2 separate regions of the Homo sapiens genome follow, and region 1 is linked to region 2. Evidence: promoter capture Hi-C in human tissues and cell types (Jung and others, 2019). All regions are on one chromosome and are shown on one strand. The core of a region is centred on a gene start or on the middle of the fragment in contact, and the rest is flanking DNA. Distances in the headings are between cores, read along the strand shown.

Region 1 (2,700 bases), core at 195-2,694, 500 kb before region 2:
GTTCTAGAAAAGTGATACACCAAGGTAATTTAACATTATGAACAGGAAGTTCAGTGGCTAAGTTTCACTGAACATGTACAATGCAAAAAGACAAAAGTGAAGTGCTTTATACATACTGTTTAACCTCAGATCAATGCTATGTGGGGGATATATATTAATATCCTCATTTTACAATTGAGGAAACTGAGGTTGAGGGATGGTTAATGATAACTCATCATCATTGAGCTAAGAAGTGATAGAGACAACTAGATGCTCCAAAGCTGGCTCTCATGACCACTTCACTACATCGCATCGTTTGGCTATGACTACGGAACTGCTAGTGGACTTGAGACTCAGGCTGAAAAAAGAATTTTTTTTTTTTTTTTTGAGACAGGGTCTACCTCTGTCACCAAAGCTGGAATACAGTTGTGTGATCACAGCTCAATGCAGCCTTGACCTCCTGAGCTCAGGTGATCCTCCCACTTCAGCCTCCAAGGTAGCTGGGACTATAGGCATGTACCACCACACCTGACTAATTTTTTGTAGAGACAGGGTTTGGCCATGTTGCCCAGGATGGTCTCGAACTCCTGGACTCAAGTGATCTGCTTGCCTTGGCCTCCCAAAGTGTTGGGATTACAGGCTTGAGCCACCACGCCCGGCCAAATCCCGGGTTTTAAAAAATACAAATGAACTAATGGGAATAACACTGGTAAGCCTGATGTTGAGACCAAGTAGTATTCTTCAGTTGGTTCTAAGAAAAGAAAGAGGTGATCCAGAGGAGTCTGTAAGTCCATGAAGAACTTGGAACAGGTTTGCCATTATAGCACGCTTCAGCAGCTCATTCACTCATTCAGCACATTTGGAGTCTGTGATGTGCTTATCACTATGCTGAGTGTAGGGAACACAGAAATAAGACTGACGTGGTCCCTGCCCTTGTGAGGCTTACAGTTTAGGGAGAAAGAAAATCATTAAATAAGTGGTAAGTGTTATGAAGAAAATAAGATATGCTGGTGGAGAATAATAGAAAAAGCCTCTTTAAGGAGGTGACATTTAACCTAAAGGATGAAACAGAGGAGGCAGGCCTGCTGAGGTCTATTCACTTTCTTTTCATCTTTGGTTGTAGCTAGAATTTTTGAGTACTCTTCAAGGGAGCTTTATGACTTGGGTTCTGTTAAACAAGTCAACCACGATTTTTAATCCATGTGCTTTATCACGAATGGTTTCCTTCACCCTGTTCAAAACATCACAAATATGATATAAATGGGACACTTACTATTCAGTCTAAAACTGTTCTCATTTATTTACTTATTAAATACAGAAAAATCCCTTTAGAATCAGGGATAAGAGGAAAGGTCTTTGTGTTTCGCAAAGTTCATCCAAGTGTACTATTTGTTTCTTCCCCATGGAATTGTCATATCAGCTTTAGGAAAGATGATGAAAGAAAAGAAATGGGCCCAGAGGGACCTAAGGAAACCAGGCCAAACTTGCTGTTCACGTGGACCCTTACAGGGAGAATGGAAGGCAAAAGCAGAGAACTGGGTCCAATTTTCTTTCTCAGTGCTATCTGTGCAGTGGTCAGATGTGGCACTCACAACCAAAAGGCTTTTGAAACAGCACTGGTGAGTCCTGACCTACCTTCTTCAAATTTCTGAAAATGATACATTTTATTATCTCATGAGTAGAGATACTGGAGATTACTCTTAAGGCAGGAAGGGGAGACCTAGGGTCCCTTTCTTTGCTATAATTAACTGCATTTTCTCTGGGAGAACAGAAGCTCCCCATGGATATATGGGGTTGGGACAAGTGGCTATTTACAGCTAAGAAGGGAATATTTTTGAGGTTTAGAGAATTCAAATCACGATTACTATCTCATGTTCAAAGACTGAAATAAAAATGGCTGTGTACTCTCTTCATGGAGCAATTTGATGTTCTGAGGCCCTCTACTCCCTGGCTTCTGGAAATCTATTTTTCCCTCCATCACAATATTTCCTTTAACTACTGAATAATTAACCCTAGTGACTAACCTAGTCTCATAGGAAGAAGGCTTGTGAAATCTGCTCCTGATGCATGTAATAAGTGTAGAAGGACACATTAAGTAATGTGTACAGTCTGGGAAGGCCAAAATTCCTTTCCCAAGGCCTGGTCCACCCTGAAAAAGAGGAAGGAAAGCTCATACTTTAATTATTGGAGCAGGTATTCCACTGGTTCACACATTACCAGGACCTTAGAGGTTTCTTCTATCATACAGAAGGAACCTGGATCAGCACACTCGCCTACTCTTCTTTGTCTGCCAGTGGAACTCCACAACAACTGACCGAAGCTGTCACCACCCCAGGCTGCCAATGTGGGCCTCCAGATTGTGAGGCCACAGGGTCAGATATGGGGCCTGGCGCTGCACTGACAGTGCTGCATGTCCAAAGAGGCAAGCAGCCAGGCAGAGCCCTCTCTGTTACAGCTTGGCCACCTGTCTGAGAGGGAAGACAAATCCCATTTCATCGGGTTTGGCATGGAAAGCAAATTGTTCACCCCCACACGCAAAAGCTCTTGAGTGGCAGAAGGAAAAGTACACACCCCAGGTGCGAATATAAAAGCGGGTCTCTTTGGGATGAACCTTCTGGTTAATTTGGTTTGGAGTCTATGGTGTTTTCACTCAGCTCTCATCAGTTTTTAAGCCGTATTACAGCTCCCAGGCTTTTAGGATAATTCTCTTAATGAAGTAAT
Region 2 (2,700 bases), core at 3-2,502:
TCTCTCTGGAAATGCTAAAGATGGAAAAAACAGACTCCAGATTTTTTCTTTCGTTTTAGCCAGTACAATTTTAAGAGCATCTGGATGTATGCTGTTGGAACTAAGTAACAATCAAAATGACCATGATTAGTGTGGACAAATTTTGTGATTGCCTTGACTTAAGTCTTGGCTTTCTAGGGGCCCTCAGTGTCCTGTTTTGAAACAATTGTGAAGACAAATATTATCTTTAGCAACGTTGGTTATTGACAAAGGAGTTGCAGGTTGGCATCCTCAACACTTCAGTTTTCTCTCTTTGATGCTCAGCAAGAATTTCCAAGTCAGCAAACTCTCAGGGACAAGCCCACCCCATCTTTGAGAGACCCTCAGCAACACCGCTGATATCCATGCCCTAGGGAGGTGTTCTGCTCTGCAGGATTCTTAGAACTGATGTAGGGGAAACACACTTCAGAATCTGGCTGTAGCCCAGGAGAGCTACCCACACCCTCCTTGCATAGTCTGGCAGACAGAAGCCACACAAGCAAGTTAGTTTCGTTTTCCTGAAGAACACTTTGCATTTTTTTTCTTAGTTTTCAACCAGATTGCTGGATAAGATGTATGTGAATGAAATACTTTAATAGAATAATATTTAGCCTCTGCAGAGTATTAACTTTGATAAAATGTAAAAGTTTTAATAACATCTTACGTTATGAAGACAGAATTTTGTGTAATTACACAAGATCACACGTTCCTTTAGAATCTTCAGTGCTTAAATTCCTGACCCTGTTTGCATCGTTTCTCTATCCTCTTTTCCAAAGCCTGCCTGCCACAATCAGAAACCCTCCCACTATCCTAATTACACTTAATGGTATGTTTCTTTTTAGAAGAGCACTTACAAAGTTATTATCAGTTAAATATACTGACATGTATTTAATCCATTGATTTTTCTAATTACTCTAGTATTTTTATAAGTAATCGTTTATGTACAAACATATATTTATATAAAAAGTACAGCTGAAGTTTTAAAAAATAGCTGTCGCCTCAAAAGCATAACAAATAAAGGTTTAATGATTCAGTTTACTTACCAGGATTTTCCTGAAAATGTCATCGTTTTATATCAGAAACTTGAAACAGGCCATTTGAACTTTTGCTGTCTCATTCCTCTTCTGATGGCTAGGAGACATGAAGTGTAAGGATCCTTTTTTAAAAACTGAGGCATTAAATTGTGAAGTCTTCTGTTCTCCCAGTACTCTGACTTTCTGAGGGTGTGTCAGAGTGCCAGTTGAGAAGCAGGAGGAAGTTGAAGTATAGACAGTTTCAGTTTTGCTTTAGAACATTCTTTTTTCTTGAGTTTAGAAGGATCTGAAATGTTTTTTAATCAATAACATTACCAAAAATATCAATAAATTTGAATCACTGCTTAGAAACTGTTTACCAGGCAGATTTTTAAGTTATAAGAGTTAAGGAATAAGGAAACAACAAACAAACAAACAAAAAAACCCAGTGACCCAAAAAACTACCTACAGGACAAAGAGAATGGAAATACCAGGGAGAAAATTAATATGTCAGTGCAATCTAAGTTCCTGTTACTGGTTGAATTGTGTCCCCCAAACATTCATATGTTAAAGTCCTAATCCTCACTCCCTCCAAATGTAACTGTATTTGGAGATAAGGTCTTTCAGGAGATAATTAAGTTAAAATGAGGTCATTAGAGTGTCTGTAATTGAATCTGACTGTGTCCTTGTAAGAAGACGAGATTGGGACACAGACACATACAGAGGGAAGACCATGTGAAGACACAAAGAAAAGATGGCCATCTACAAGCCAAGGAGAGAGACATCAGAAGAAACCAACCCTGATAATGTCAGAGACATTCGAACCAGAGTGACTCCATTTTGAATGAGGGCTACGAAAATGAGGCTGAGACTTGCTGGGCTGCCTTCTCAGAAAGGTAGGCATTCCTAGCCTCTAGATGTTTATGATTAAGGGAGCAAATTAATAATATTTACTAAGCAGACCGTGACTTGGGAGTGTCCAGATATCCCAATATCTGGAGAACAGAGGCATTCTTAATTTTGCTTTAAAGAAAATAATATTGATTCTTGCAAAATACACTAATTAAGAAAATTAATTCTTTATCAGAAACCCTTGTAGCAAAACACATCTCTCCATATATACAAGCATTGTACCTAGGGTGGATGTGTTCCTCCTCTTACTTTCGGGAACGTCCTACTCTGTCTGTGGAGTAGCTGTCCTTTTACCACTGTACTTTCTTAATAAACTTGCTTTTACTTTGCACTGTGGACTCGCCCTGAATTCTTTCTTGCATGAGCTCCAAGAACCCTCTCTAGGGGTCTGGATTGGAACCCTGGTCCTGTAACATTTCTGGCAACCATGAGGGACCGATACTGAAGAACCTCCCCACCAACCCAAAGGAAATGGACTATAGCACTGATTGGATGACTTTGGGTAAGTGGTGGGGTACCCGGGTAAAGAATGGGATTGGGTTAGAGGCCCAACTTAGGGGAATTAGAGTCTCTCCGAAGACAGGGTGAATTAGAGACCCCTGTTAATAAAAGGCAAAGATGCTTGACTGACCTCGGATTAGAGGACCAACTTAAAAGGTTTAGAGTTCCTTCTAAGATTTAGGGGGTTAGAGGGCCCTCTCAGTAAAGTCCCTCTCTGCTAAAAAAGGGTTTGGCACTGCAGGCTATGCACTTTGTA

Evidence for each region. The method cuts DNA at HindIII sites, captures the fragments that hold promoters and counts their contacts. A contact is called where the count stands out against the background at its distance.
Region 1: a contact is called between a fragment that was not itself captured here and the fragment with the promoter of SAMD9L in region 2, in 1 of the 25 tissues and cell types used here (IMR-90 fibroblasts).

The regions. Positions count from the first base shown.
Region 1 is chr7:92,642,547-92,645,246 of GRCh38, forward strand. The region is part of intron 5 of CDK6 (cyclin dependent kinase 6); the gene reads right to left. LOC112268009 (a long non-coding RNA gene) reads right to left here. Exons shown (of 2, transcript XR_002956577.2): 1 at 1-2,700. Among named protein-coding and RNA genes, the nearest start is that of FAM133B, 54 kb to the left of the region's middle. The HindIII fragment of the contact is 3,085 bases long and covers 1-2,700 here.
Region 2 is chr7:93,147,133-93,149,832 of GRCh38, forward strand. It overlaps SAMD9L (sterile alpha motif domain containing 9 like), which reads right to left and starts at 1,253. Exons shown (of 5, transcript NM_152703.5): 1 at 1,062-1,253; 2 at 1-14. RefSeq lists an enhancer at 453-552. The HindIII fragment of the contact is 15,444 bases long and covers 1-2,700 here.